4 separate regions of the Homo sapiens genome follow, and all the other regions are linked to region 1. The links are contacts of gene promoters, found by promoter capture Hi-C in blood cells and fetal thymus (Javierre and others, 2016). All regions are on one chromosome and are shown on one strand. The core of a region is centred on a gene start or on the middle of the fragment in contact, and the rest is flanking DNA. Distances in the headings are between cores, read along the strand shown.

The links. The method cuts DNA at HindIII sites, captures the fragments that hold promoters and counts their contacts. A CHiCAGO score of 5 or more calls a contact.
Region 2: a contact is called between a fragment that was not itself captured here and the fragment with the promoter of PCDHB14 in region 1, in 1 of 17 cell types (erythroblasts). The highest score is 5.1, in erythroblasts.
Region 3: a fragment that was not itself captured here is called in contact with the fragment with the promoter of PCDHB14 in region 1 in 5 of 17 cell types (M1 macrophages, M2 macrophages, endothelial precursors and 2 more); the score reaches 8.6 in M1 macrophages.
Region 4: a contact is called between a fragment that was not itself captured here and the fragment with the promoter of PCDHB14 in region 1, in 1 of 17 cell types (M1 macrophages). The highest score is 5.0, in M1 macrophages.

The regions. Positions count from the first base shown.
Region 1 is chr5:141,220,814-141,225,624 of GRCh38, reverse strand. PCDHB14 (protocadherin beta 14) reads right to left here and starts at 2,282. Exons shown (of 1, transcript NM_018934.4): 1 at 1-2,282. The coding sequence starts at 2,119. It also overlaps PCDHB@. The HindIII fragment of the contact is 16,360 bases long and covers 1-3,092 here.
Region 2 is chr5:141,441,817-141,446,627 of GRCh38, reverse strand. The region is part of intron 1 of PCDHGA1 (protocadherin gamma subfamily A, 1); the gene reads right to left. The region is part of intron 1 of PCDHGA2 (protocadherin gamma subfamily A, 2); the gene reads right to left. The region is part of intron 1 of PCDHGA3 (protocadherin gamma subfamily A, 3); the gene reads right to left. All of the region lies in intron 1 of PCDHGB1 (protocadherin gamma subfamily B, 1), which reads right to left. It also overlaps PCDHGA4, PCDHGB2, PCDHGA5, PCDHGB3, PCDHGA6 and PCDHGA7, and 11 more genes. Among named protein-coding and RNA genes, the nearest start is that of PCDHGA12, 14 kb to the right of the region's middle. RefSeq lists an enhancer at 4,202-4,702. The HindIII fragment of the contact is 1,120 bases long and covers 1,758-2,877 here.
Region 3 is chr5:141,376,710-141,381,520 of GRCh38, reverse strand. All of the region lies in intron 1 of PCDHGA1 (protocadherin gamma subfamily A, 1), which reads right to left. The region is part of intron 1 of PCDHGA2 (protocadherin gamma subfamily A, 2); the gene reads right to left. The region is part of intron 1 of PCDHGA3 (protocadherin gamma subfamily A, 3); the gene reads right to left. The region is part of intron 1 of PCDHGB1 (protocadherin gamma subfamily B, 1); the gene reads right to left. It also overlaps PCDHGA4, PCDHGB2, PCDHGA5, PCDHGB3, PCDHGA6 and PCDHG@. Among named protein-coding and RNA genes, the nearest start is that of PCDHGA7, 3.6 kb to the left of the region's middle. The HindIII fragment of the contact is 3,193 bases long and covers 337-3,529 here.
Region 4 is chr5:141,086,635-141,091,445 of GRCh38, reverse strand. It overlaps PCDHB@. Among named protein-coding and RNA genes, the nearest start is that of PCDHB2, 5.6 kb to the left of the region's middle. The HindIII fragment of the contact is 4,657 bases long and covers 389-4,811 here.

The DNA.
Region 1 (4,811 bases), core at 1,033-3,532:
GGAGCACCGAGAAGAGGAAGAGCGACGACACCGAGGCCAATGCCACCACCAGGTAGACGGTGAGGGAGTCGGCCTGGGCCTGGGCCGGGGCCGCCTCAGGGAGCGGCAGGTAGGGCTGGGAGAAGCCGTCCACCAGGAGCACGTGCAGCGTGGCGGTGGCCGAGCGAGGAGGCTCGCCATTGTCCTTGACCAGCACCACCAGCCTGTGCTTGGCCGCGTCGCGCTCGCTCAGCAGCCTGGCGGTGCGCACCTCGCCATTGTGCGCCCACACGCCGAACAGCCCGGGCTCCGTGGCCTTGAGCAGCTGGTACGACAGCCAGGCGTTCTGGCCCGAGTCGCCGTCCACCGCCACCACCTTGGTCACCAGGTAGCCCGGCTCGGCCGCCCGGGGCACCAGCTCGGTGCAGGGCGCGGAGCCGTTCTGCAGCGGGTACAGCACGAAGGGCGAGTTGTCGTTGGCGTCCAGCACCAGCACGCGCACCAGCGCCTCGCTGCTCAACGCCGGGGACCCGCGGTCTGTGGCGCCCACGCGAAACTCGAACTCCTGTAGGGCCTCGTAGTCCAGCGACCTGAGGGCAAACAGGTGGCCATTGTCCGCGTTGATGGAGACCAAGGAGGCGAGGGGCAGGTGCCGGTCCTGGGGCGGCAGCAGCGAGTAGTTGACCTGGGCGTTGGTGCCTGAGTCTCTGTCTGTGGCGCTGACGCTGCCGATGTGCAGGGCGGGGCTGTTGTTCTCGCGGACGAACAGGGTGTAGGAGGTTTGGGTGAAGGTGGGGGCGTTGTCATTGACGTCAGAGAGCAGCACGGTTATGTTGTACTCGGTTTTCAGCCTGGGTGTCCCCAAGTCTGTGACGGTGATCGTGATGTTGTACTCGGCTTGGCTCTCTCTGTCCAGTGCTTTTTCAGAAACTAGAGTGAAAAAGTTCTTGAAGGTCGGTTTCAGGAAAAAAGGGAGGTTATCTTGAATAGAGCAAATCATCCTCCCATTGTCTCCAGAGTCTTGGTCTAGGATACTAAAAAGAGCTACTAGGGTCTCTGAGGCATTCTCTGGAATTCTCTTTGTAATCGACGATATGGTCACTTCTGGTGGGTTGTCGTTTATATCCATAACTTTAACTAGAAGGGTGCATTTTCCTGAAAGACCCCCACCATCTGTTGCCTGAATATTTATAGTGTAGGACTGTATTACTTCAAAATCCAGGGGTGATCTCAAATTAACTTCCCCAGATATTGGATTAATTTCAAATGTTTTACGAATATCTTCTGATGCATGGAAAAATGTGTAAGATATTTTTCCATAGTTTCCTGCATCCAGATCCTTAGCTGAGATGGTGGCAATCCAGGAGCCAAGGGGTCTGTCCTCGGGGACTTGCACCTCATAGAGACTCTGAGGAAACTCAGGGGCATTATCATTGATGTCCAACACCTTGATGAGAACCAAAGTTGTCCCAGACTTGGGCGGGGATCCACCATCCACTGCTGTGAGTGTTAATCTGAGTTCAGCTTCCTGTTCATAATCTAAAGCTCTATCTAGGACCAGCTCTGGGTATATCTTTCTGTCACTACTGTCGGGAATTTTAATGTAGAAGTGAGAATTGGGGCTAATTGTGTAGTTTTGGAGACTGTTGCTTCCGACATCCAAATCTTGAGCACTCTCCATTAGAAAGGTAGCTCCAACAGTGGTACCTTCTGATATTTTAATAAGTATTTCCTTGTCTAGAAATGTAGGGGAGTGATCATTTATGTCTTTGACACACAGCTCAAACCGAAAAAACTGTAAAGGGTTTTCCAAAACCACCTGAAAATGCAGCACACAGGGCTCGGTGGAGCCACACAGCTCGTCTCGGTCTAGTTTCTCATTTAGGAGCAAATTCCCAGTCAGCAAATCAAGGTGCAAATACTTTTTATTATCATCAGACACTACCCGGGCTTCACGTGAAGACAGCTCCTCCACCCCCAGCCCTAGGTCCCTCGCTAGATTAGCCACAAAAGAGCCAATTTCTGTTTCCTCTGCCACAGAATAGTGTGCAGATTCAGTACCTGCCCGAGACAATCCCAGCAAAACAAGGAATATTAGAACTTGCCTTTTTCGCAGATCGAGTGCCCCTCTGATCTCCATGGTTCCTTTAGGCAATCTCTTGTGGAAAAACTGAAGCTCAGCCGTAATTTTGGAAGCTGAAGCTCTGGTTTTTAACAGGAACCCCCTGGAGAGTGTATCCTCCAGCAGCTCTGTAGGCGAAGCTCCTTTAATGCCTGTCTTTTCAGTGGGTTGGATGCTTTCTGTTCTCCTGAATAGCGAAGCTCACCGTGCCAGCCTATGTACTGTTTTCGTCTTATCCTGTAGCGCCACCATGTGTCTCCATGTTTTTTTTTTCATTAAAAAAGTTTTCCTCTTTGAAAAAGTAATTCATAAATACATCCGGAACATTCGAAACAAATCCCAGACATCATTTTTTTTCCTTTAAATACTTCACTAAGTATTTTTAATAGGTAAGGCCTTCTAAAAGATAATTGTAATAAAACGTTCACAATCAACAACTTGAGCAATAATTCCTTGGTGTAATTTATACTGCATTTGGTTTTCCCCAGTTCTCTCCAAAATGTCCTTTGCTGTTGGTTTGTTTGAATTTGAATCCAGAAAAGTCCATACACTGCATTATCACTGTTTTGAATGCTCGGCACTAAAGGATCTGTTAAAATATTCTGAACTGAAGAAATAATTTTTTATTTAAGTCATTTCTCGAGTAATTACAAATATATTATCTCCTTCACTCTTGTAAATACTTGTTGTCAGCTATAGTTGGTAATATCATTACTTTTTTCACTTTTATATTTTAAAAATATAAAGAAGGACATGGCACAAATAAGTTAGAGATAATTCTTGCTCTTACAGAGCTCACAAGCTAGAAAAATTGGCAGACAAGTAAACGAAGTATGTCATAATGTATGCATTTATAAAAAGTAATATAGAAATACCTAGAAAAGACTTCTTGTACCTAGGAGGCTGCATACCTTAGTGCTTGGGAATATGGGATCTGGAACCAAATTATCAATATTAGAATCCTGGTTATGTGACTTACTATCTATAAGCTTGGGCAAGTTATAGATACCTTTGTTTCCTCACCTGTAAAATGGGGTAATAATATTTGTCTCCTATGATTATTATCGTAGGCATCTAATGAATTAATATTTACAAAGTGGTTTGTAAGTGCTGGTTAAGTGTCTGTCAAAAATAAAATAATTAAGATCAAAGTCGGACTTGGGACATCAGTGAAAGCTTTCCTGAGGTAATGAAAAATACATTGTGATCTGAAGGAACTAGCCAGGAGAAGGAGGAATATTTCAGATGGGCATTTTGAGGAACACAGAGAAATGAAGTATGCCTTGGACTTTAAAAACTATGGAAGGGGAGGGTCTAACAATGAAATTAGGGTTAAAAGCATGGTGAGAACATGAATCATTATACAGGTCATATCATGCATTCTTGAATTTATCCTAAAGGTAATTCAAGTACAAAGATGGGTTTTAAATATCTGATTAACATGATTACATCTGCATTTTAAAAAATCAGTTTGGCTGCAGTATGGAGAATTAATTTCAGGGGGAGTGACTGGAGAATCAAGGAGATCAGATAAGAGATGATGATCTGGATGAGGATAATGCCAGTGTGGATGGAGAGAAGAGGGATGAATAGAAAGGTATGAGGAGATGAAATGTTTTCAACTGTTGGTTGATAGGTTGCATGGGGAGAAAAATGGGAAAGACTCAGAGATGATATCACACCTCTGGACTGGGCATCTGGATGACTAGTGGTGTCATTCACTAGGACAGGGAATGCTAAAAAAAAACATGATTGGGGTGGAAAAAGATGAAGTGTTCAGTTTTGAACATGCTGATATTGAGGTAAGTGCCTGTAGGATGTGTGTTTGCGTGGTGGTGGGGTGTGTGTGTGTGTGTTTGCATATAACCAAAGCATAGGAAATAAATCTGAGCTGGCAATATGAACTGTGGTGTGTATATATGTATATATATAGAGAGAGACAGAGAGAGACAGAGAGAGAGAGCATATATATAGCATATATATAGAGAGAGAGCATATATATAGCATATATACAGAGAGCATATATATAGCATATATATATATATAGCATTCATGGTTTCAATCACCATATATATATATATATATATATATATACACACCATGAATGCTCTAGGATAACCAAGCAAAAGTGTGTCAAATAAGTATAAAAGAGGCTTGGCACAGAACTCTGAGAAACATCTTCATTTAGAGGAGACAGGGCAAGAAGTATATTTGAAAAGATAAAGAAGGCTCAGAGTTCAAAATCATGAAATCAAAAGCAAATAGCATTTTAAGGAGATAAGGAAGATCAATGGCTGCAAATGCTTCAGAAAAATCAAGAAAAATAAGTATGACAATTATCCAGTGGGCTTAAAAAGATGGTCATTGTGGAGGATTCTGATAGATGTCTGACAAAATCTGTTTTCCTTTGCTTCTATAGTAATAGAACTGTGCCCAGGTATGTGGCCATGAAGGTAGATTGCCCATCCCAGCCTCCCTTGTATTTGAGTGTGGCCAAGTGAATTAAGTTCTCACAGATGGATTGTGAGCAGAATTTCTGTCTTCCCCTTCCAGTTATAGAACAGAAATCATCTGGATATGCCTCTTTCTTCCAAGCGAGCTAGAACCCAGATGTGACAGTGACCCAGCTACAGCCATGCAGATTATATTGCCATAGGGAATGTTGAAGAAATTACTTGAAAGAAAATTTGGTTTCAGAAGGACTGTGAGG
Region 2 (4,811 bases), core at 1,068-3,567, 220 kb before region 1:
GTGCACGCCTGTAGTCCCAGCTACTCAGGAGGCTGAGGCAGAAGAATCACTTGAACCTGGGAGGCAGAGATTGCAGTGAGCAGAGATAGGGCCACTGCACTCCAGCCTGGGTGACAGAGCGAGACTCCATCTCAAAAAAAAAAAAGAATGATGACCATATGTCTAATCACACACTGAATATCTGCACTGTTTCTCAGATCCTTCAAATGAACATGGCTGGAACTCAACTCGATTTCTCTTAAATCTATCATTCTTTAGTCTTCCATTCTCATCAAATGGTAGCTTTGTCCATCCAGTTCCTTAATGTGGAAACCCAGGAATCACTCTTAATCCCTGCTCCCCATTTATCCATTGTATTTATTCAGTTAATAATATTTCACTGAAGATCTACCACTTGCCAGGCAACACAACAATATTTTCAGACACCTAGGAATATAATAATAAACAAAACACCCCCTGCCCTCATGAAATTTATATTCCACCTATTCCATTATTAAGTCTTATTGAACCCATTTCCTAAATATATCTATAATTCATCCATTTATTTCTACATCCACTGCCTCCCCTTTAATCCAAGCCAGCTCTTCTTCCATTTCTTACCAGGAATATTGCCATAGTCTCCTATCTTATCTTCCTATTTCTATTTATAACCCTCATAAATCAATTCTCCATATAGCAGCCAGAGTAAGCTTAATAATTCAAATATCTTGTCACTGCCTTGTTTAAAATATTTTAATAGCTCCTAAGTACAAGGGTATTTAGAACAAAATCCAGAATTTTAAGTGTGATTTACAAGGCTCTCCCTGCCTTATTAGTTTCATCTATTTATTTTCTGTTTCTAGCCTCCCTAGCCCTTTTAAATTGCTTGAGTCACACCTTTTATTTTTTAAAAAGATCTTTACACATGCTATTTCCTCTGCCTGACAATTTCTTTTTTACTTTCCTTGTTACCTAGATAACTTCTACTCATCCTATTAATCTATTCATCTCTCTAAATATCACTTTCCGAAAAAAAGAAAGCCTTCCTTGACCTTCAGATTAGGCGAAGCTTCCCTACTATAAGCTTTCTCTTAGTGCTTTTGTATTTCTCCTTGTTGGCTTTTATCAGACCTGTAAAATATCATGTATTAGAATAGGGCCCATTAACTCAGGAATCATATATGCCTTGTTCATTGCTGCATCCTTAGTCCATAGGTCAGTGCCTTGCATATAGCAGACAGTTAATAAATATTTGTTATGTAAATGAATGAATGAACCACCCAGGACCAGACTTGGGCAGACACCAATGTTTACTGTTTCTGGATGGGTTCTCTCAACCTACAAACTGAAGAGAATGGAAGCCTGAACTTATGCAGAGTGGTTTCGACTTATATTCTCACACAATATAGTGTAAGAATAGAGCACTTTGCACCTCTTACTTTTCAAAAGCATATAGAATACATAAAAACATAGTTTTTCATTTTTCTGTAAACTAGAAATGAACAATTAGAAGATACAATTTTAAAAATACTATTTACAATAACATTAGAAAACATCAAATATGTAGGGACAATTTAATGAGAAATATACATGACCTCTCTACACTGAAAACTATACAACATAGCTGAGAGAAATTAAAGACCTAATTAAATGGAAATATATACCATGTTCATGGATTTGAAGTGTCAATATTGTTAAGATGATCCTCCTCCCTCCTTCCCTCTTTCCCTGATAAAGGTATAGATGCAATGCCATCCCATTCAAAAATCCTACAAGCTTTGTCCTGTAGTAAGACTTTGTAGCAAGACTTACTATAAAGCTACAATAATTGAGACAGTGTGCTATTAGTAAAAGAATAGACAAATGAAACATGATCAAGAATATAGAAATAGAACTACATATATCAGTGAAATGACTTTCAACAAAGGCACCAAGCAAATTCAACAGAAAGAGGAAAATATTTTTAATAAATGGTATTGAAAAAAATGGGAAATAACTTCAACCCCTACCTCAATGAACTGGTGCATCATGCCACATGCAAAAATCAATTTTAAATAAGGTAAGTAGAAAGGAAGAGTCAAAAGTGTCAAATAAGTGCCTTTTGCTCACTAGACACAGTCACTGTCTCACCTACTATACTGCTAGAGCAAAGTATTACACAATATAAATCCAGTACGCGACCGGGCGCAGTGACTCATGCCTGTAATCCCAGCACTTTGGGAGGCCAAGGAGGGAAGATCACCTGAGGTTGGGAGTTCAAGACTAGCCTGACCAACATGGAGAAACCCCGTCTCTACTAAAAATACAAAATTAGCTGGGCGTGGTGGCACATGCCTGTAATCCTAGCTACTAGGGAGGCTGAGGCAGGAGAATCACTTGAACCTGGGAGGCGGAGGTTGCAGTGAGCCGAGAGCATGCCATTGCACTCCAGCCTGGGCAACAAGAGTGAAACTCCATCTCAAAAAAAAAAAAAAAAAAAAAAAAAAAAAAAAAAAATCCAGTACACACAAGTGACACATATCTGTTGAGATACTTCACTTTTCTTGGTTTCCAATCCTTAGCAGACTTTTCAGGTGAGCATCAGAATCTAGATTGAAGATGCCAAATTATCTGATTTACTGAATTCCTTTTAGAAGCCAATACCCAGGTAGCATTTAAAATAAAATTAACATAGCTTAGATGGACCACAGAATACATACCAATAAGGAAACCTGCTGTGAGTAGTCAGACACACTTTTATGAATTTTCCTACTAATATTCCTTTTCTCTTGACTTATCAGTAATTTTTTCAGTTTTCAGACTTTCCATATTACCCATTTTACCTAATTATGTTTTCCAAAGGTAACTGTTTCCTTTTCATTTTTTTTGTCTTTTTGGTAATATTGTATATTGTAAGCTTCCAATTCACTGATAGGGAAATGTATGAGGAATTTTATATGCAAATGTTATTCTATAATTTTTGAAGTGTTTGTAAACTACTAGTTCAGTAAAATGCTATGCTAACATTATCTGGATCAATTTTTACAATCACCTGATTATAAGAACATTTCATATACCACATTCTGTTTTAGCTCAAGTCCATTTAAAGCATTTGAATTGGAACAATTTCCCAAGCTTTAAATAAGTCATAAGGAGAGAAGCTCTTTATTTGTTTGTTTGTTTTGGGACAGGGTCTAATTCTGTCACCCAGACTGGAGTACAGGAGCGCAACCACAGCTCACTGCAGCTTCAATCTCCCCAGACTCAGGTGATCCTCACACCTCAGCCTCCCAAGTAGCTGAGACCACAGGCATGGACCACTAAACCTTGTTAATTTTTGTTTTTTTTTTTTGTAGAGATGGGTTTTTGCCATGCTGTCCAGGCTGGTCTCAAACTCCTGGGCTCAAGTGATCCACCCGCCTTGGCGCCCCAAAGTGCTAAGATTATAGATGCGCCTGGCGAGACAAGCTCTTTGTACTATAGAGAATGATGCAGTGGACATGGGTAGGGAAATAAAATGCAGTATAACTTATGATAGTGTTCTTAATCTGGTTTGAAAAGCAAGGTTCAGCTTGAGAAGGAGACTGGAACACTCAGTCATAAGACGCTCTTCAGTGGAACAATAATTTTCAAAGTTTAGGTCTGGCAACTTCCATTAGTCATATTCTTAGATTTACTGAAATTATAGGCTAACTTTATCAGCCAGAATGTCTTTTTGCAGTGAGAGGAAGTTTCTTAAATAGAAAATGAAACAGTTGTGTGCTGAAGGAGAAGTGATAAGCAGGGATTCTGAGTTGTAAATTTACATCTCTCATACTACAATGGCCAAGATTTGTCCCTCCCTTATTTTTGGATCAGTACAATTTGAATATCAAAGTAAAATTATAAAATATAATCAAACACATACAAATATATATAATCAAAACATGCTCCTTACCTACAGGCCCCAAATGCTCTGGCATGTCTGATACTCTTGTCTGCCTGACTACTGTCCCTCAAGCTCACCATGCCAAATATTTCTCATCTTAGGCCTTTGGTCTTGCTGCTAGAAATGCTTTTTACTGAGATCTCTGAAAATATTTAATGCTAGAAGAAAACCTGCTTGTGACTGAACTTAGTTTCATCAAGAATTTTTCACCTTGGAGAGTGGATTCTGCCCAAGCAATTAGAATAATCACAATCATCCCCTTCCCCAAGGGGCTTTCTGCAGTGAAACTGCTATTGAGTCCTGAGGGGTAGGGATTCAAAAAAGAAGTTCACTCAGCCCTGGATTCGTAGGAGAAGCACACACCTGGTAGGAATATGGCATCATAGAGCTACAGTTACCCAGAAACCTGGGGCTTAGCGCGGGATAGACATCCGTGGGAAAGACTCAGACAGGATCATTTTGGGGTCTTCGGCACTTTAAAACCAGCACAAACAATGCAATCAGGAAGAATAAAAAGGAAATTAAAGCTAAGGCAATCACCAGATATAAATTAATTTTGGATTCAGGCTGTAGCTTTGCAGAGTGATCGCTGAGGTCTGGCAGAGTCTCCTGCAGGCTGTCGGCGACGAGGGGCGGTAGTGGTGGTGACGTGGCGGTAGCGAGAGGAGCGGCTGTCCACCGCAGTGCACCGCGACCAGTAGGCGCTGGCGAGTCGCTTTCCTGTGGCCCATCGTGCGAGCTGTCAGCACCTCGTCGGTGCGCATTCCAGGCTGAAGAGCCTGGGCTTGCTGGCCTGCAGCACGTGGTAGGACAGCCACGCATTGTGTCTCACATCTGCGTCTACAGCCACCACCTTGGTGACCAGGTAGCCAGGCTCCGCGGCGTGCAGCACCATATCCAAGAGCGCGAAGCCATTGCGCTCCAG
Region 3 (4,811 bases), core at 684-3,183, 160 kb before region 1:
AATCTTCATCCTACTCTATTCTAGTGTAATTGAGAAAACAGGGATCTCTAGACAGCATTTGAGCAAAATGCAGGACTGTCCTGACAGGATCCTTAGAGGTACTCGTCTCTCCACTGATGTTGATAGAGTAAAACTAAATTATTGATGGATCCGAGGCTACCCTCTGCTAGCAGAAAGAAAAGAAAGCTCCTTTCACATAGTTGCAGAATAAAAGAGAATGACCTGCTCTGGAATAAAGACCTGGCAAGAAACAGTCTTGGTTTGTAAATTCTTCTAGGTCCTGGAGAGTAGTTGGTGGAACCAGGAGGAGAATCCAGAACTAACACTAAGAAAGCTTAACTTCGTTTTGTGGGAGGCTCCTAAGTAACCTATTTCTGCTTTCTGGTGGCATTGCTCCAGAATACAGGGAACACTTTGAAGGACATTCTGTTTTGATCTATCAAAATAATCCATAGTTATCTTTGCATTCACAAAGTAGATAAATTTTGTTTAAAGGAACTAATAGAGGTATTATAGATGAATTCTGTAAACTGGAGTTAAATTCTATTTGTTTAATAGTACTTTTGAACTTCTTGTTGAGGCAAGCAAAGTGTATGATTATTAAACAATGTAAGCACTTGTAGATATTTTCAAACAAACTTTCATGTTTGGAGGTTATAGCTCTCAATGTCTTGATCCATTTTTACCTGATGCCTCAAAATTCATAGTTTCATCTCACATTTGTTTCTTATTCTACTGTTTTAAAAAAGTCTCAATTAATTTATAGTGTCTTGGTACCTTCTTTGGAGAAAAGGAAATAAGAGCTAGTTAAATTAAATTATAGACTACTCCGAACACAAAGCATACATACCCTATGGAGTAAATGGCTTCATTGTCTCTAGCATTCACATTTTCTAAGTTATCGAACATCATAAAATTAAATATTAAAGATCTTTACTAGACCGCCAAGATATGTTTAATAAAATCTAACATAAGCTCATTGTATCAAATTGAAATCATTTCATAGTTTAAAGAGTGTATATTATTGTTGACTGAGATATTGGGAAGAATCCTGACCATTTGTTTGGTTGCATTAAAAAGAATTCTATGTAAAGTCTATTTGGCTTCCTGGGCATCGAATTGATTATCTTCTCTCTTTTCTTTTTTGGGACTTTTTTTTCTAAAAAACAAACAACAAAACAGTTCTTTGAAGTTCCATTTAGATTTTCATTCTCAAGCAAAGATATAGGTATCTTCCAATGTTTCTCCTCTGAGATTTTACTCCTTCCCCTTTGACAATTGCCACCTCAACAGAAGCCTGATCAGAAATGAATGCCTTTCAGGCCGGGCTCAGTGGCTCATGCCTGTAATCCCAGCCCTTTGAGAGGCTGAGGCGGGTGGATCACTTAAGGTCAGGAGTTTGAGACCAGCCTGGCCATCATGGTAAAACCCCATCTCTACTAAAAGTATGAAAATTAGCTAGGCATGGTGGCATGCACCTGTAATCCCAGCTACTTGGGAGGCTGAGGCAGGAGAATCGCTTGAACCCAGGAGGAGGAAGTTGCAGTGAGCAGAGATCACACCACTGCATTCCAGCCTGGGAGACAGAGCAAGACTCTGACAAAAAAAAAAAAAAAAAAAAAAAAAAAAAAGAGGCTTTCACAGACCATAAAATAAGAATAAGACAATAATTTGGTAGTTTTTTTTCCTGATGCTTCAAAATTCTATACTGAACTCTCAAAACCTCAGATAGCCTATCTTATTATTAATGATCTGTATTGCAGGTGGATTAAAGAACCTCATTTAGCCATAACTTAGCAAATTCCATGACTGCCAGGATGTTTAACAGTTGGTCAGTCCACATGAGTGAATGACTTTTGTGAGAGTAGAAGTTGGTAGTTTTTCCATCAGAGAAATATTTTATTTGTTTAAATGAAATGGTCACAGGTAATAAGAGAATAAAATAAACCAGCCTGATCTCCATGAAAAGTAGTTAGTGAGCTTTCCCTATAACAACAAATGCTCAAGATGTAGTTTAACATCCCAAATTGGTAGTATAGTAAAATAACATTCACACTTTCAGAGTTTATGAAATAATCATATGTATAACAGCCCATCTAACTCATGAGACTAATATCCAAGATTCAAGTTGTTTAAAATTGTTATTTTATCAAATTATATCACAAAGATACAAGAAAATGAGCTTTGAAGATGTGTATGATTAGATCTCTTGTTTAGGTATATACCTTTGGAAACTTGAAATAAATAAATCTATAACAATTCCTTAAATGTAAATACCACAATATTGGTTCAGAAAAACACATATTACTCTTAGCAGCTTATTTAAAAACACATCAACTCAATGTTATCTTTAAGAAGACTGACAAAGTCAGGTTACAAAGGAGGTTCTCATTTATTTTCAAGGTATCTTCTCAATTGCTTTTTTCTTACACATTCATAACAAATTCAGATGCACAAGTGGCCAATCCATTCTATAATACCACCAGATTGTAGAATCTTCCAACTCATGACTGGAGAAAAATCTTGACTATAATGTAGTTCAACAAGTCATCAAATTAGAGAATCCCCTGTACTCCATTCATTCCAGGGCCATCAACTTACTTTTGAAGACTGTCGATAACAGAATCTCCTATCTCCTTAGTGATCCATTTTCTATTCGAACATCATTGACAGTCAAAAACTCTGCTGTTTTCTGTTCATGAAACAATGATTCTGTTTGCACATTTCAGTCATAATAAATAAGACTAATCAGTCTTCTAAATGATAATCCCTTTTTTCTTGAAATATTTCAATAAAGAGTTCCTATATGATGAAAGCCTTATTGTCTGGGTTAAAATGCTAAAATATTTAAATTTTTATTTGAACCTCATTAACATTTGTTCTCCCATTCACCAGTCAGTCATCTATTTTTAGAGATATGTCCTGTAAGCAGACACTACCGAGCATGTTTTAAAATTCATGTTCACTCTTTATTTATTAATTATCATTATTATTTTTTGAGACAGAGTCTCGCTCTGTCACCCAGACTGGAGTGCAGTGGCACGATCTTGGCTCACTGCAACCTCTGCCTCATGGGTTCAAGCGATTCTCCTGCCTCAGCCTCCCGAGTAGCTGCGATTACAGGCCCATGCCACCCCACCTGGCTAATTTTTGTATTTTTAGTAGAGACGGGGTTTCACCATGTTGGTCAGGCTGGTCTCGAACTCCTGACTTCGTGAGATGCCTGCCTTGGCCTCCCAAAGTGTTGGGATTACAGGCATGAGCCACCGCACCCGGCCATTTTCACTCTTAAATACTATCAGGCACACAGTATGCAAAAGACACTGTAGTAGGCACACAGCATCGGTGCTTAGTTATTGTTAACAACCCAATAATTATAATAATGGTGATGTCAACAAATACGTGTTCACTATGCTGCTTTAGAGTTTGAAAAAAAGTTATAAAATTATTTTCTTAGAATTTGAGTCAGATAGATAAGGAAAGTCTTGTTTTAAAAAATAATATAAGTAGAGCTTATTTGAGCCAAGCTTTAGGATTGCAACCCAGGAACATAGATTCAAGTTGCCCTGGATACACACTCTATAAGCAGCAGTTACAGGTGGATTTTTACTCCAGACTGGGCAACAGAGGGGGATCCTATCTCTGATAAGAGAAGTCTTTTAAATCTTAATTTTAATTGGAAGATAATGGCGATTGTAACTGGCCCAAGTAAATAACAGATAGTTACAGGAATGTTATTCAGGTCTTTTAACACCAAAGATCTGGTGTCCCCTGCTGCAGTTACCAATGATTCTTATCTTTTCAAAAATAATTTTTGATTCCTAAGTAGTAAAGGTGAAAGATCTCTTGTATGAACGTCTGTCGTTTATAGTTATCAAGTAACACTGAGAAAAAACAAAATCTTTTTTTTTTTTTGAGAGAGAGAGAGAAAAAGTCTCATTCTGTCTCCCAGGCTAGGGTGCAGTGACACAATTATATCTCACTGCAGCCTCATACCCCTGGACTTAAGCAATCCTCCTATCAGAGCTTCTCGAGTAGCTGGGACTACAGGTGTACGCCACACATCTGGCTACTTTTTTTTCTTTTTGGTAGAGACAGAGTCACCCAGGCTGGTCTCAAACTCCTGGTCTCAAGGGATCCTCCTGCCTCAGCCTCCTGAAGAGGTGGGATTACAGGCGTGAACCACCATGCTAGCTAAAACCAAGATCTTGATCTTTAACACTGACCTAAATTAAGGTTATTTTTTTTCCCACATTAGAAAAAGAAAGAACCTTACAAATGTCACATAGTAGGAAAAAACCTAAGAAACGAGATGTACTCAATCCAAGACACAAATAGTTTGCCAAGAAGAGAAAGGTAAAGAAAAACTAGGACATGCATTATTTTCCCCCACAAAATTAAGACTTCAGAACATTCTTTTGATATAAAAGAAAAACATTAGAATTATGTGACTCTCTGCAAAGGGCTAAGAAAACTAAGCACTAATCAAAGACAATCTTGAATTTTCCTGTCAACCAATAAAAACGATACCCTCGGCCGGGCGCGGTGGCTCACGCCTGTAATCCCAGCACTTTGGGAGGCCGAGGCGGGTGGATCATGAGGTCAGGAGATCGAGACCATCCTGGCTAACAAGGTGAAACCCCGTCTCTACTAAAAATACAAAAAAATTAGCCGGGCGCGGTGGCGGGCGCCTGTAGTCCCAGCTACTAGGGAGGCTGAGGCAGGAGAATGGCGTGAACCCGGGAAGCGGAGCTTGCAGTGAGCCGAGATTGCGCCACTGCAGTCCGCAGTCCGGCCTGGGCGACAGAGCG
Region 4 (4,811 bases), core at 1,468-3,967, 130 kb after region 1:
ATTAGATTATAATTTATAGCATATTTATAAGTCTGAATGAAATATGTTTACATATAGTAATTATTTATATTATAATGAGGGGAATCTATTGCATAATTTAAAAATTATGTTATTACAGTAGGTTTAATTTCTTAGGTTTCGCTTTACTTTTCATATGCTGCACAAGCAGAGACATTATCCTAGGAGTCACTTTCATAATTTTGAAGATTCATTTAATAAAATCTAACATATTAAAATGTTACACAAATAATTTCATATACAGGAATAGAAAAATATTTTCAAAAACATACCAAAAATGAAAGCAAGTCATTACAGTCTTATTACAAAAGTACAGCCATTCAAAAACTAAATAAGAACACATTGTTTGAGTATCTGTCATAATTAAGCTTGCCTCTCTCTTTTTTGGACTAAAGGGTGATTTGATCTTTTGACTGCCATGAGATGAAAATTACAAGAATTAGGAGAAAGGGTAGTCAAAGGGATTTACATGACCATTTTCCTATCAAAGATAATGCCAAATGATATGGAGATATTATCCCCACTAGTATCCCTCTTTCAATAGAGAGGGATCTTCAGCCTTTCAATGCCTTCTGCCCACAAGCTGGCTTTACTTACTCAGCCATAAGATGGCAGAAGAAGGAGGGGTTTTCAGTGATCTAACACTAAGATTCTGCAGAAAATATAAGAGAAATATTCTAGGACAAGAAGGGAGTGTTCTGGCATAGTTTATTACCCTAATCTAGTGTGAAAATTGGGGGCATATTCAACTAATTTACTTTTACCTTATTGAGGATACAAATAAGTTTCCCCATAATCTATCAAGACATACATTTCATGAAGCTCAAGCAAACAAGATTTCAAAATAAAGGTCGGCTACACGTGGTGGCTCACACCTGTAATCCCAGCACTTTGGGAGTCCAAGATGGGTGGATTGCTTGAGTCCAGGAGTTTTGAAGACCAGCCTGCAATGTGGCAAAGCCCCATGTCTACCAAAAAAAAAAAAAAAAAATCAGCCAGGTGTGGTGGCTCACGCCCATAGTCCCAGCTACATAGGGGGCTGGGGTGTTAGCGTCACTTGTGCCCTGGAGGCAGAGGTTGCAGTAAGCCGAGATCACACCACTGCACTCCAGCTTGGGAGACAGAGCGACACCCTGTCTCAAACAACAACAACAACAACAAACAAACAAGCAAATGAAACAAGAAATAAATATAACTCAAAAAGGGGAAATGGTGTTGTTTATTCTCTTCCCACAGTACAAATAAGCAAGAAAAGGTTTTTAAAATGATACCTGCACAAGAATCTTGCCCAATTTTGTTTAAGGAGAACCATCAGAGTCTATTAGGACAATCTGTCCCCTTGAAAATAAAAATCTTGACCAGGACTGCAGATAAAGCTAGATAGACAGATATAGATGGAAATAGAGATGAGAGAGACAGAGGTATGACCTCTTCCAAAAATCTCAGACTTTTTTTTATGATTAAAATAGGTTAAAACTTAAATCAGGTTTAGGTAATCTGGTAGATGATTGAATTTTCACTAAGATCACTATTGAAATTTTACTTTAAAAGAAAATATGGACTGGGTGCTGTGGCTTATGCCTGTAATCCCAGCACTTTGGGAGGCCAAGGCAGGTGGATCACGAGGTCAGGAGATCGAGACCATCCTAGCTAACACGGTGAAACCCTGTCTCTACTAAAAATACAAAAAATTAGCTGGGCATGGTGGCAGGCGCCTGGAGTCCCAGCTACTCGGGAGGCTGAGGCAGGAGAATGGCGTGAACCCGGGAGGCAGAGCTTGCAGTGAGCTGAGATGGCGCCACTGCACTCCAGCCTGGGCAACAGAGCGAGACTCCATCTCAAAAAAAAAAAAAAAGAAAAGAAAATAATATGGCTAAATACAATATCGAAAATTAGTAAATAATGAAGAAATCCAAAGGTGTAGAGAGGGCAAAGAATACGGGGTGAGGGGAAGAAACCTGAAACTCTGACTACAAAATACAAAGCATAAATAATCAATTTAGATATGCTAAAGAAATATAAGGAAATACTTGAAAATTATAACATATTTTCATATCACAGTAATTATTTGAACATCTACTGTGTAAAGAAGCAGGCCAACAAGAAAACAAAGGAATACTAAAACCATAGTATATGCTAAGTGAGGAATCTAAGTGACAGACCCCATATTCCTGAGGTCTGTCAAGATGTAGCCAGTAGAGCTGAAAGAAACAGCTGACCAGCAGCAGTTGTTGTCTGAATCTGGAATACATAGGTGGCATCTCAGTGTCCTTGACCATAACCTGAAGTCTATGATTGGCTAGATTACCATCACTCACAAACCTAGTGTGCACACTTCCCAGTGTTGGGCTAACACGCTATACAGATGGAGACTCAAGTCTTTGAGTAACTGATAGGACATGAAGACCTTCCAGACCTAGTCTCCTTCTACTGCCACCACCTTGAACATCACATAATCCGTTCTGCATTAAATATAACACAAAGGAGAATTGCCATTGCCATCAAATATTACCAACCACACCAACACCATGCTGCTAGCTCATGGTAGTAGTAGTGTCTGTTTCTCTCATACAGAACTTGACTCTTATGGGCCTTACAAACAGATTCTTTGTGTCCACTGTCATGGAGTACTGCACATCCTGGGAAACCAGAAGCAAATAAGTTACTTGGGTGTTTTTCTAAGTCTCTGTTTATGGCAGTGTGCTGCTAAAATGCACACTCTAGGGCTGTGTTTTCATACTTGATAAGTGCAGAGGCAGTTTGGTGAAAATGAAGACCTGGTTATATTGTTTCCTTTCAGCTTACAGTAACTCCAGATCTCTGGCAGTAATCATAGAATTGTACTTGTCTTTAATCTACCTCTATTGAAGGCTTTAGGGTGAAGGGAAGGTGGTATTATGAAGCCCAAATATCTATTTTTTTTTCTGTGATCTGGATCTGAAACACAGGAAACAGCAGATATGGTCTTAAAGCAGATATGGCTCCTTGGGACCTAGTTCATAAATGATGACATGATGATTAGGAGTGGACTGTCTTTTACAGCAAGAAGTTACATTTTCTAGAGTCTTTAATTATTGATGATCTCAGAATCCACACTGTAGATTAGTATAGCCTTGGAATTTACGGGTTTGAGTGATGGGTTTGCTTTTGGTACTTTTATACCAATGTAAATGCTTTATTAAAGTTTTCATTAAGTCTTCAGTAGCCCGGTAAAACCTTAAAGATAGTTTTATATTATACCTTGTATCCAAATTCCTGATAGAAAAGTGATAGCCAGGGAGGAAAAACTTTTTTTCTGGGATTACTGTACTGAACTACTATATATTACAGCTGAGTAAAATCACTGATAACCCACAACTTTGGTGAAGACCAATGCAGATTTGGATCTATGTGGGGACCCACCATCCAATATCATGATAGTTAAATTAACCTCAACCCATTTCTTTCCACTGAGAAAATTGCCCATCCTCATTCAGGATATTTTCTGCCACCATTCTCTAAGCAAACAGAAGAGAAGACATGGGAATTAGGATTCAAAATATACTTATGAATACTGCTCTGTCTACATGTTCTGCCATCTATATGGTCTCTACAAGATGCTCTCCTTGATTTTTTGCAGCATTCCTAGATCCAGTAATACACACTAGTGAATGGCTATATCTGTGAGTCCAAGGCACCTTGTAAAAATGTAACTCATTTTTCCAAGTTACCTTTCTCAAGGCAAATGAGTAACTCAAATGAGTTACATTTTTCCAAGGTGCTTTGAGACTCACAGATGGATCCAATTTCTATTTAGTACCCACTCCTGAGTCTTTTGATTTGAAAATGCAGTTTTTTAAATCTATAGAAACATGAATTACCCTCTCGCTCCCCATACCTCTCAAGTTCCCCATCCTAAGGCCCAAAATCTCTGCAAAATTAGCAATGAAGGAACCACTCTCCAGCACCTCTGGAACAGAATTCTGCAGTTCAGTATCCTGAATGGTACATGCTTAGTAAAACAGAATCACACTTTGTTTTAGACTGGGCTTTAAGTATTACATTATTCCTTCTTCTAACACCTTCCAGCAAATATGGTCCTACACAAACTCTGATCACCCTAATGTTTCTATTACTTATGCCACCAGAATCTTAGACATCCAATACAACTTTCACAGACAGGGTAATATAATATGAAACATACAGCACTGTATTTGCAATCTGCTTTAACCACCATTTGAGCCTGCAGTGCCATTATAGGACCGCCCCCCACCCCCCGTCAGTGCATTAAACTCTCTAGAAAGAAAAAAAGTATTTGAGAAAGGCAAATGAAAACACCAAACACTTTGTATTTATGTAATTATTATCCAGTGTATTGAATAATGTCTGTTTTCATTTTATCAGCAACTATCATAAATATATTAAATATCAACAAATAGGTCTTATTTGAGGCATATTCTGTTGTATCTTCTTTAATTTTCCTAAGCCATACAGGAGAGTATTAAACACTGACATAAAGAAAAAAAAGATAAGATTGTTTTGTCGGTCTGTTTTACATGACATTTAATGTACTGGATATGCTATGATATTAATTGCCAAAGAATTAATCATTTTTGATGTTTAATAAGGAAACAGTAAAAATTAACAAACACAAATTTAACATTGACATAAATAAGCTACACAGCAACTCAGTTGATTTACGTCTTAAATAACGAAAAAGACATTTATTTCTACAGTTTTTTTTCTTGTAGTTGTATATCTCCATTTGATTTCGTGGTCATCAATATCACCAAAATCATCAAATGACTATTTCA